Linked DNA regions of Homo sapiens: region 1 is linked to region 2. The links are contacts of gene promoters, found by promoter capture Hi-C in blood cells and fetal thymus (Javierre and others, 2016). All regions are on one chromosome and are shown on one strand. The core of a region is centred on a gene start or on the middle of the fragment in contact, and the rest is flanking DNA. Distances in the headings are between cores, read along the strand shown. Region 1 has its middle 20 kb from the start of MUCL1. Region 2 holds the start of OR6C68 (olfactory receptor family 6 subfamily C member 68).

The links. The method cuts DNA at HindIII sites, captures the fragments that hold promoters and counts their contacts. A CHiCAGO score of 5 or more calls a contact.
Region 1: a fragment that was not itself captured here is called in contact with the fragment with the promoter of OR6C68 in region 2 in 1 of 17 cell types (M2 macrophages); the score reaches 5.6 in M2 macrophages.

Annotation. Positions count from the first base shown.
Region 1 is chr12:54,831,699-54,838,115 of GRCh38, reverse strand. It overlaps a transcript of MUCL1 not described here. Among named protein-coding and RNA genes, the nearest start is that of MUCL1, 20 kb to the left of the region's middle. The HindIII fragment of the contact is 5,535 bases long and covers 1-5,159 here.
Region 2 is chr12:55,489,863-55,496,774 of GRCh38, reverse strand. OR6C68 (olfactory receptor family 6 subfamily C member 68) reads right to left here and starts at 4,397. Exons shown (of 1, transcript NM_001005519.2): 1 at 3,459-4,397. The coding sequence starts at 4,397. The coding sequence ends at 3,459. The HindIII fragment of the contact is 4,433 bases long and covers 618-5,050 here.

The DNA.
Region 1 (6,417 bases), core at 1,143-3,642, 660 kb after region 2:
CTACAAGAAATGCTAAAAGGAGTTCCCAATCCTGAAACAAAAGATGGATATGCACCAGAATAGAACCACTTGAAGCATAAAACTCACAGAGCCTATAAAACAATAATGCAATGAAGATAGCAAAGTATCAAGGTAACAATCAATATGATGACTGAAACTACTACTTCATGTCTCAATGTTAAATATGTATATGAATGTAACTGAATGTAAATGGTCTAAATGCTCCACTTAAAAGATACAAATTGGCAGAACGTATTAAAAAATCACAAACCAAATATCTTCTGTTTTCAAGAGATTCACCTAAAATATAAGCATTGATTTTTTTTGTTTTTGTTTTTGTTTTTTTGGAGACGGAGTCTCACTCTGTCACCCAGGCTGGAGTGCAGTGGCATGATCTCAGCTCACTGCAAGCTCCGCCTCCTGGGTTCACGCCATTCTCCTGCCTCAGCCTCCCGAGTAGCTGGGACTACGGGCACCCACCACCACGCCCGGCTAATTTTTTGTATTTTTTTTTAGTAGAGACAGGTTTTCTCCATGTTAGTCAGGATGGTCTCAATCTCCTGACCTTGTGGTCTGCCTGCCTTGGCCTCCCAAAGTACTGGGATTACAGGCATGAGCCACCACACCCAGCCCATAAGGATTCTTATAGACTTGAGGTAAAGGGGTGGAAAACGATATTCCACACAAATGGAAACCAAAAGCAAGCAGGAGTAGCTATTCTTATATCAGATAAAACAGGTTTTAAAGCAACAACAGTAAAAACATAAAAACCCAAAAAAAGTCATTATATAATGGGAAAAGGATCAATCCAACAAGAAAACATTACAATCCTCAATATATTGCACCTAACTCTGGAGCTCCTAGATTCATAAAACAATTACTACTAAACCTAATAAAAGAAATAGACAGCAGCACAATAGTAGTTGGGGACTTCAACTCTCTACTGACAGCACTAGATAGACCATTGAGGCAGAAAGTCAACAAAGAAACACTGGACTTAAACTGCACTCTAGAAAAAATTGACCTGACAAATATTTACAGAACATTCTACTCAAGAACTGCAGAATATACATTCTTCTCCTCAGTGCATGAAATATTCTCCAAGATAGACCATATAATAAGAGATAAAACAAGTCAATATATTTTAAAAAATTGAAATTATATCAAGTGTTTTCTCAGACCACAGTGGAATTAAACTAAAAATAAACTCCAAAAAGAACCCTCAAAACTATACAAATACATGGAAATTAAATAATTTGCTCCTGAATGATTTTGAGGTTAACAATGAAATCAAGATGAAAATTCAAAAATTCTTCAAAATGAATGATAATAGTTGCACAAGTTATCAAAACCTCTGGCATATAGCAAAAGCAGTGCTAAGAGGAAAGTTTACAATTCTAAATGCCTACATTAAAAAGTTCAAAAGATCACAAGTTGACAACCTAACATCACACTGCAAGAAACTAAAGAAACAAAGACAAACCAAACCCAAAACTAGCAGAAGAAAAGAAATAATAAAGATCAGAACAGAACTGAATGAAATTGAAACAAATACAAAAAAGATCAATGAAACAAAAAGTTGTTTCTTTGACAAGATAAACACAATTGGAAAACCATTAGCTAGATTAACCAAGAAAAGAGAGAAGATTCAAATAAGCTCAGACATGAAAATTGAGACATTACAACCAATAACACAGAAATACAAAAGATAATTCAAGATTACTATAACACCTCTATGTACACAACTAGAAAATCTAGAGGAAATGAATAAATTTCTAGAAACATACAACCCTCCTAATTTGAATCAGGAAGAAATAGAAATCCTGAACAAACCAATAACAAACAAGCAATTAGACTGAATTAGTAATTTAAAAGTTGCCAGCAACAACTACAAAAAAGCCCACAGCCAGGTAGATTCACAGCCAAAGTCTACCAGACCTTCAAAGAAAAATTGACAGCAATCTTACTGAAACTATTCCAAAAGGTTGAGAAAGAGGCAATCCTCCCTAACTCATTCTGTGAAACCAGTATGCCCTGATACCAAAGCATGAAGAGGACATAACAACAAAAAAAGAAAACTACAGACCAATATTCCTGATGAACACAGATGCAAAAGTCCTCAACAAAATAATAGCAACCCAAATCCAACAGCTCGTCAAAAAGATAATTCATCATGATCAAGCGGGTTTCATCCCAGGGATGCAGGGATGGTTCCACATATGCAAATTAATAAATGTGGCAGAATTTATAAATAGGCAGAATTTAAAACAAAAATCACATGATCATCTCAACGGACACAGAAAAAGCATTCAATCAAATCCATTGCCCCTTTATGGTAGAAACCCTCAACAAACTAGACATAGAAAGAACATACTTCAAAATAATAAAAGCCATATATGACAAATCCACAGTCAGCATCATACTGAACGGGGAAAAGTTGAAAGCATTCCCACGAAGACCTGGAACAAGACAAGGAGCTCAAACAAATCAGCCAGAAAAAAAAAAAAAACAATCCCATCAAAAAGTGGACACGTGACACGAATAGACACTTCTCAAAAGAAGATATACAAATGGCCAATAAATATATGAAAAAAATACTCAACATTGCTAATCATCAGGGAAATGCAAATTAAAACTACAATGAGACACCATCTTAACCCAGCCAAAATGGCCATTATTAAAAAGTCAAAAAAACAGTAGATGTTGGTGTAGAGGTGGTGAAAAGGGGATGCTTACACACTGCTGATGGGAATGTAAATTAGTACAACCTCTATGGAAAACAGTATGGAGAGTTCTCAAAGAACAAAAAGTAGATCTACTGTTTGATCCAGCAATCCCACTACTGGCTATCTACCTAAAGGAAAATAAGTCATTATATCAAAAAGACACATACGTGTATATGTTTATCATAGCAGAATTCAACATTGCAAAAATATGGAGCCAATATAAGTGCCCATCAACGAATGAGTGAATAAAGAAAAGGTGGTATATGTACACCATGGAATACTACTCAGCCATAAAAGAGAATGAAATAGTGTTTTTTGCAGCAACTAGCAACTTGGATGGAGCTGGAAGCCATTATTCTAAGTGAAGTAACTCAGGAATGGAAAACAAAATACCGTATGTTCTCACTTATAACTGGAAGCTAAACTATCTGTATGCAAAGGCATACAGAGTGGCATAATGGATATTGGAAACTCAGAATGGAGGAGAGTGGAAGGAAGGTGAGGAATAAAAACCTACATATTGGATACAATGTACACTGCTCGGGTGACAGGTGCACTAAAATCTCAGACTTCTCCACTCTACAATTCATCCATATAACCAAAAACCACTTTTACCCCCAAAATTATTGAAATAAAAAATATATATATTTATTTTTAGTATATAAAATTTCAATCATGTAGGATGAATAAATTCTAGAGATACACAGTTAGTTCATTATGATTAATGATACTGTATTCTATACTTAAAATTTGCTAAGAGAGTGGATTTTAAGTATTCTCACCACAAAAAATAGTAACTATGTAAAGAGAATGTTATGCTAATTAGTTGGATTGTGGTAACAACTTCACTGTGTATATCAAAACATTACATTGTTTACCTTAAATATACAAAACTTTAAAGATAAATTTTAAAAATAAAATACAATAAAATTGCACCAGTGAAAGAGTATGGCTTGTGATGAGGATTTACAATTAGACGATGAAAAGAAGAGAGAGACCAGAAGGTAATTCACAAATATACAGTGACTGATTGAATTTTAAAATAAAGTGAAGAAAAGGTAGTTTAAAAATGCTGATAGGTAAATTCAAGATTCATATAAAAGGCAAAAAATACTCAACTTCACTCAATACACTAAAATAAATTCCAAATAGTTTATTATGTAGAGAATATATCTAAATAATAAGTGTAACAGTAAACCTTCTAAAAGAGAATATAGAAAAATAAGTTCATGAAGTTCACGCAAATATGTCTTATATAGAACAAAATCAAAGCACTAACCCTGAAGAGATAGGTTAATGAATTAAACTACAATGAATATAAAAGCTCTTACATCCAAATCACTATTCAAGCCACGCATTCAGAGGGTATAGTTATAATGCATGTAATTAACAAACGACTGTTAAGTAGACTTTTTTTTATTATACTTTAAGTTTTAGGGTACATGTGCACAATGTGCGGGTTTGTTACATATGTATACATGTGCCATGTTGGTGTGCTGCACCCATTAACTCATCATTTAGCATTAGGTATATTTCCTAATGCTATCCCTCCCCCCTCCCCCAACCCCACAACAGTCCCCAGAGTGTGATGTTCCCCTTCCTGTGTTCATGTGTTCTCATTGTTCAATTCCCCTCTATGAGTGAGAACATGCGGTGTTTGGTTTTTTGTCCTTGCAATAGTTTGCTGAGAATGATGGTTTCCAGCTTCATCCATGTCCCTATAAAGGACATGAACTCATCATTTTTTATGGCTGCATAGTATTCCATGGTGTATAAATTCCTTAGAAAAAGATAATCCAATATAACCATTGGGGAAAAGTTTTGAATAAGACTTCAGAAAAGGGGATATCTTTATGACCAATAAATTTATGAAAATGTGCTCTAATTTGTTTGACATAAGGAAAAAAATTAAAACAATTAGATAGCACTAGGCATCATCAGATGGGTTGAAATTTTATGAACTGAAAATACCAAGTATTGGAAAGGTGTATATAACTGTAAAGATATGTGGATCTCATCTATACAAAAAACTAGAAAATATTATTGAAACTAAATAAAAGGAAAAATAAACTGAGAAATAAAACATTTGCATAGATTAGAAAATTCCAGTTCTCCTCATATAATTCTATATATTCGATGCAAAACTCAACAAAATTTCAAAAGGTTGGATGTGTGTGTGTAGGTAAATATGAATGCATGCACAACAGAATATGCTTTATTAAAACATACATAAAAAGCCAAGGAAAAAGGACCTAGAATGGACAGGACAGCTCTAAGGAAAGTCAAATGAGCAACTCTTACTCTTCTAGATATCAAAAATTAATATAAAGTTACAGTAACGAATAGTGCTGTACTGGTACAGGAATTTAAAAAGAAAAACATAATATAAATCCAGGTTAAAGATCTGATGATAATTCATTTAATAAGGAAGCTTGGTTATTTTGTGACATACAAAGTTTAAAATAATAACTCAAATTATAGCTGATCACTTTATACCAGGACATACAAAATTTCTAGAAATTTTATATGATTTCTTGAAAATAGCATTTTACCTATACAAATGTAACCTAGGGAAGGTTAAGCATCACTTCTTATTTGACACATTTCCATTCAGCTTAACATATCAAATAATATAAATTATTTTTACCAGATTCCTTTGCAAAATGAAAGAAAAATTCTCTTGGGTATTTTCCAGGGGCCGTCTGTGATGTCTCAGTCAGTTTTAGGTCAAAAAGACCTCATAAAGCATCCGATTGTTAGAGATTGTCAAAAATGTCAAAAGGTTTAAATAGACGAGTAAGTAGGATCACAGGCCACCATGAAACAACAGTTATCCGTTTAACCAAAGTGACAATAAAAGATTTTAAAGGCAAATACAGAAGCTTACATAGTTGTAAACAAAACCCTTAGCTCTTTTAATATTGTGAAGACTCTTAAGTAATCAAAGACATGATAAAGACAACATAAAACAGAGGAAATTATTCAGAAAAGACACAAAACATTGGTTTCCCAGGCAGATTATGCAAAAGTTAAAGAAAAGCCTTTCACAATCTCTTATTAAGAGCAAACCAATAATCCCCCCACCCAAAATTTGTCTTTTTAACAGAAAGAAAGCCATATTCTAGCTTTGCATTAGTGTACTTTTGATGTTAAGGCTCATATTTTTAAATGTGTAAACAAAGGAATTCAAATCTTAGCCAGCTTGACTACACATAAATTTCATTTTCCACAAGCCTTCTGCAACTTCCTATATCCTTTAGTTTTTGCTCTATATTTTTCTTATTCCTCATTCTGGAACAACTAGTCATCTAACTTTAGGATAAAATTACTCTCTTTTTCCCTTAACAAAAACACATCCTTCATACTCGTATATTTCCTATCAAAGATATATCCTATTTTCCCTGAAAACTTTTGATGAAGAATTGTTTTCCTAATTATTTTCACATATTAATTGTAATGTTTAACCATTAGTAAGGTTTCTTTTATAGAGAAAATTAGGAGGTAGATAATTGTGAAATGTCTTTGTTACATGGCAGCATTCTGTAGCAAGCTTGCAAAAGTGATGAATATACCATTTCACAATTTTAGAGGCATATGCTTCCTCATAGTATAATTTTTCAATGTGACAAAAATTAACAGACTCAAATATATTTAGTCTCTTTATACTGTATAAAAGCAAGATGCCAAAAAT
Region 2 (6,912 bases), core at 3,148-5,647:
TACTTGACTGTACAAAATATTACATGCTGGGAAAAAATGATAAATAAACTAAAGACTCCCATGTTATCTTGACAATATATCCCCATTCACTTATCATTTATGAGCCAAGTCATTACAGAAGCAAAGCTGAAGATATTTTTAAGTCAGATTCAGAAATGAATCTGAGGACTTGTGACATGACATCCAGCTCTTTTCCAGTGCTTTATTCAAACCTCTCATTAGTAACTGTCTTAGACTTGATCATGAACTGGAGACAATTCAAATCAGTGGCCAGGTGTAGGGAAGCACCTTTAATCTGCCTTGTGTCTCCAGAATGGATCCCTCCTACTCTGTTGTAAACTGGAGTCAATCTTTACTAGTTGTAGCAGGGGATGCATCATGAAAATTATTTACTGTGGTACAGTGCCCGAGTAATAAATCCTATTGTTGAGTCCCATATCCCATATTATTTCTTACTAGAGTTCTTTATTCTAGACTTGCTTTCATTAATTTTAACTTGCAATATACAAAATTGACTTTTTCAAGCTTGCAAGGCTGCAGATTACTGATTTACAGGAATTCTGAGAAATAATTTAGTATCTTTTCTTTTTTCTGTGTGAGTCAGTTTCAAGTAAGCTTTATTTTTCTCTATTATATGACCATTTTGATGGCTATAGAAAGCTACTTAGAGTCAACCACCCTAAAATTTTTCCACTGTGTCCCCTAATCCTGTAGTTTTGCTAGACACAAATCCTGCATTCTCAACACAAGCCTGGTGGCAGTTTAACCAATTTGTTCACTACAGTATAAGAAATTTTTCCTTTCTTACATTGGTTTGTACAATTACAATTTTTAGATCTGTCACCTCTTTCTGCTACTCTTGGTAGCAATTTCTCATATCTTTTACTGGCAAGTTACCAAAAAAACCTATGTTGGTGTAAGAAATACATCAATATACATACAAATACTCCAAATAATTTATTGACTGAGTTCATATAACTTGTGGAATTAACCTTTCTCATAGTTTGATCCAGAGGTCCATGAGGCAATAAGGGTACTGTTTCCATCTCTGTGTGACTCACTGAGCTACGTGCTCTAACCTTATCTGTGTGCTGGCCTGGTACTCAGGGTAGTTCCTTCGCTGATAGAAACTGTAACCATAGCAGTGTTAGACGTTACTTTTTCACACCATATCGGAGAAAGAATGTACGATGTATCAGACTTCCAGAAGAAGTCTTGATTAACTCTGATTGGCCTGATTTAGATCACAACCCTGAATTAAAAACACTGTGGATTGGTTAATAGAATGCAATAATTAACTTTTGGGGGGTTTTGAGGTTCTCCACTGAAATTAGGAATGGAAACAACTTTCCTGAAACATTCAATTTGATTAAGTTGTTCACTGGGTGTTTTACCTTCAACCCCAAAGATTAATGTAGGCTGAGAAACAAAGCAAGAGGCATTTGTCAAATATTACCAATAGAAACAAATGACATGGGCTTAGAGAACAGGTGAATATTCTTGAATTTTATGTCACTCACTATTATCCCAAGATGAATGGTGTCAACTGTACAGTGTGTTTTTACATTTCATTTCTATTTACACAGAATAATTTATTCACATATTCAAACTTTCATACGGGCAATCATTCATTCATTCATTTATCAAATATGTTCTGTGCATTGTGCAGCAAGATTATTGTATTTGGTGCTCGTGGTGTGGGAAAGGGATGACTAAAACATGTATTATCTATCTTTATGCATTTATGATCAACATAGGATTTTATTTTTCCTAAATGGCATAATGATGTATGTATTATCTTGCAAATAGTTTAAAATTTTTTTTTTGTTTTTTTTGAGTTGCAGTCTCGCTCTGTCGCCCAGGCTGGAGTGCAGTGGCATCATCTCAGCTCACTGCAAGCTCTGCCTCCTGGGTTCATGCCATTCTCCTGCCTCAGCCTCCCTAGTAGCTGGGACTACAGGTGCCCACCACCTCGCCCAGCTAATTTTTTGTATTTTTAGTAGAGACGGGGTTTCACCGTGTTAGCCAGGATGGTCTTGATCTCCTGACCTCGTGATCGGCCCGCCTCGGCCTCCCAAAGTGCTGGGATTATAGGCGTGAGCCACCGCGCCCAGCCAGTTTTTAAAAATTTTAATATCCTTCCATTATAAGATCAAGTTCTATATCATTTGATAAGTACTACATCTTATGCTGTAATTCCCTAATTGACTTACACATTGCCAAGTGATGTTCATTTGGTTATTTTCAATCTTTTACTATTACAAAATGACTGCAATGAGTATAATAATTGGCAAGTAGATTCTGGCATAAATCCCTAGATGTTGATTTCTAGATGAAATCTTATATGTACTGTTAGTAAATATAAATTCCAATGTTTTCAAGTAAATTGTGCATTGAGGTGTATGTTTTACTTTAAGTGTTAGCATACTGGCTAATATTGAACATACGAAAAATTTAGTTTGTGCAAATATGATGGGTGAAATGTATATCATGACTTTAATGTTTAAATCTGTGGCTAATAATGAAGTTGTGCATCCCTTCCTATTGCTATAGGTAATTTTATTTTTTAGTAAAATAAATATCTAATATTTTCTTGGTATTTATAGTAAATTTGTTGCCTTTTTTGATTCATAGAAACTTCCTACATATTTATTATATTAAGCCTTTCATGTTAACTGTACCATAAAGCTATTCTTTTACTTATGTTTTCTCTTTAATATTTTTCATGAAATTTTCTCTTTTTGCTGTAGATATTTTAAAGTTTGTTACTTAAATCTGACTTTTTTTCAGTGAGGCAAGGAATTTGTATCTTGATTAAGAGTGAATTCTCATAGACCAGGTGCAGTGGCTCACGCCTGTAATCCCAGCACCTTTGGGAGGCCGAGGTGGGTGGATCACTTGAGACCAGGAGTTTGAGATTAGCCTGGCCAACATGGTGCAACCCTGTCTATACTAAAAATACAAAAATTAGGTGGGCGTGGTGGCGCATGCTCTTAGTTCCAGTTACTTGGGAGGCTGAATCATGAGAATTGCTTGAACCTGGAAGTTGGAGGTTGCAGTGAGCCAAGATGGCACCATCGCACTCCAGCCTGGACAACAGAGTGGGAATCTATCTCCAGGGGAGAAAAAAAAAAAAAAAAAAAGAATGACTACTCATAGAAGTTGGGAAAAAAATAACTTCACACCCATATTTTAAAATTATCAGAGAAAATCAACTGGAAAGAAGGAAAAAAGAGTGGTTTAATCTGGTTAAGGATTAAAAGTGATATATTTTGTCTATCATAGAATATTATTCAATAATTAATTTCTCAGTACGTAAATTAATAAAAAATTAATGATTAAATGGCTATGCAGTCAACTTGATTGCTCTATAGACTAAGAAATTACAAAGTTGGTTATTGGCTTTATGAAAAATATGAAGCAGATCTTTTATATTGATTTATCAACTTAGGTACACTTTACTTTTTTAAACGAAATGCAATTTTTTTGAGTGAGTCATGAAAGGCTTGTTTAACTTGCTCATTCCTAAGAGTATATATGAAAGAATTCAACATAGGTGATATGGATGAAATAAGCACTGACACACCTTTATTAATGTTTACCTCTTCTTTTGCAGATGGCTTGATATAGATGAAGATGCAGCTGCCATAAGTGATGGAAACCACAGTAATATGTGAAGAACAGGTAGAAAAGGCTTTTTTCTTTTGTTGAACAGAAGGGAATTTTAGAATTGTTCTTATGATATATGTGTAGGACAGAACTACACATACAAGAGTGATAATAAAGGTTAATACAGCAGAGGCTACAACCATCTGCTCAATTAATGATGTGTCTGAGCATGGTATTTTCAGAATAGGCAATGCATCACAGCCAAAATGATTGATGACATTAGAGTCACAGAATTCTAGATGAAAACCTAAGCTAAGTGGTGGGAGGATAATCATAAGTGCTGCCATCCAACAACAAATAACCATTGTTTTGCACACTTTGTTGCTCATGATTGCCATATAATGCAAGGGTTTGCAGATGGCCACATAGCGATCATATGACATGGTAGCCAAAAGAAAAAATTCAGTTACCCCAAAGAGGTCTGCAAAAAATAGCTGAATGACACATGCATTATACGTTATTATTTTGTTCCCAGTTGAGATACTGTATAAGAATCTTGGAACACAGGTAGCTGTAAATGAGATTTCTAAGAAAGATAAATTTTGGAGAAAAAAATACATGGGTGTTTTCAGGTGGGGATCCAACATGGTGAGGGCGATAATGGTCAGTTTCCCTGTTACACTCAACATGTAGGTGATAAATAGAAACATGAAAAGCAGAACCTGCAGCTGAGGATCTTCTGTCAGTCCCAGAAGGATGAATGTTGTTATTGCTGTGTGTTTTCTCATTACTGACTTCTGCATTTTTCCAAAACTACATGTAAATGTCAGAGAAATTTGAACTGCAGCATTCAATAAAAAAAGCAGCTAATGATGAACACTCTCATGCATGTTTCATTTATCCAACATCATAGGTTTTACTTGTTGATCTGCAGAAGTTTATAGTGAGAATATAAATAACATATATGTACATGTTTTAGTACGTTGAGCTCCCTTGATCTATTTATACAAAATGGCCAAATAAGATTATTTTATAAATTTTAGTCAACGAACTATAGAATAACTTTTCTTTATTAATCTTCTATAGTAATTAATTTATAGTGTATTAAACATTTTAACTCATTCTGAGTTGTGCCTTTTTATTGGATTGCATTATTTTTTGAAATATGACTGTTTTTTATGCTGCCAAATGTTTTTCTGCAACTCATAAGCTACATTAAAATAATTCGCTTTAGTTTCATCTCTGTTTTAAAATTTGGGAATTGTAAAACCCTAAAATAAAACATACATCAGGTTCCAAACAAAACATTTCAATTCCCTCTAAGATGTATATTTATTTGCTTTTTGACTGCTTTTTAATTGTTGGTTATTCATTTTAAGAGAAAACCATCTTTTGACCCTAAGGCATCCACGTTTATAATTTTACATATCTCTTCTAAGCTTCATTATCTAAATCTTATATCTACTCCCTGGATAGTGCTGTGTAGTATAATATGATTATTTTTCAGTGCCCTTTTATCACAGTGCAAGACAGTTTTGATTATAATAAATGAACTGCTGAAAAATATAAAAACTATGTCTTCCTGCGTTCAGTTAGCTACTCAGATTAGAACAAGTTATACAACATGGATAAAAGTCAAGACAAAAATTGCTGAATATCCTCGCCATGACACAATATTCTCTCCTTTTTCATTTCCTTCAGATCTACATTCTTTGACTCTATTTCCACAGTACGCATTCGTTTCTCAATCTGTTACTCTCTTATTTTTCACCTCACCAGATTTTTAAAAGTGCTTAATCAGTTAACTTCCTGTGACTTAACCCAGTATAATCATAATATGACAAACACAAATCTCTTGCTATGCTTCAGGCAAATCTCTTGCTATGCTTCTCTTTTAAGTATATTACATATATAATTAATATAATCCTTAGGACAACCTGTGAAGTAGGGAGGTATATTATCTCCACTTAAAAAATGAAAAAGCTGATCGACAAAGAGGTAAAGTATGTGGCCATTGTTTCAGGATAGTAAGTGGCTAGAGAAACCCCAGAGTCCCAGTTCTTTAATCACTGCGCTGTGTTTGTGGTGAACACTTTACCTGAATGTTTTAATTTCATGAAGATAATATTCTGTCTATTGGTAATTGAAACAAAGCTGGGGTTACTACATAGTTTATTATCTAAACCAAGATACTTGAGAAGCACAGCGGGGGCAGTTAATAATTACGTTGATACAACTGGTGTAAACAGGGCTATCAAGAGCAAAAACTAAATGTGTGCCATTCTCTATACAATTACTTACTCCTTGATTCAGGTGTAATATTAGGGCTAATGGAGATTAAACTTTGCCAAAGTGCAACTGGCTAATTTTCCCCATCTTATTGTTTATTTCTTTTAGTATATTGATCCCTCAATGTTTCCTCAATATTTCTTTCAGTGAAATAATAAGACTGAAGACTAGGGACTCTGTTATTCTGGGCTAAGTTCAATAGCTAGGTAGAAGTTGCTGTTGTGTATTCTCAATCATATTGTTAGATATTCACAGGTTTCTAATTTGTAAGTAATGTCTTAAGAGCTTCAAATTTTCTTACCTTTATTAAATGCAAGAGAGATATAAAATAAGGCATTTTCTTATGGTTTTAGAATATTTCCCTCAAAAAGCCCTAATGCATCTACTACAAGAGCTTTAAACAATCAGTGTTTTTCCCTTTTTTGTCTAATCAAGTAAGCACTGTCTTCTGCTAGTATACACCCAATATACTGAGCAAAATCTCCATGGTAGAGGAACACCATCACAGGGCATGCATCTTAATCTAGGCTCAGGGTAGATAAAGCTTGCTAGGAAGCTAATACCCTTTTGAGAGAACATTATAATCAGAAGATGACTCTGTAACTCACACTTAGAACCTCTGTCCTGTTTTCTTCTTTTTCACTATTTCAATTTACCATCCAGTAGTTCTCTTGGTATTGGATTCAGCTTTGTTTGGGTCTTAAGACTATCTTTCATTTTTGATATTTTGCTTTCCCTGAATCCAGTCTTGCATAAATATTAAATATTTAACAATATCATCATATTCATATTGACTCAATACTGCTTTGCATATTTATTTATTTATTTATTATTTTTTATTTTATTTTATTTTTTATTATACTTTAAGTTTTAGGGTACATGTGCACATTGTGCAGGTTAGTTACATATGTATACATGTGCCATGCTGGTGCGCTGCACCCACTAACTCGTCATCTAGCATTACGTATATCTCCCAATGCTATCCCTCCCCCCTCCCCCGACCCCACTGCAGTC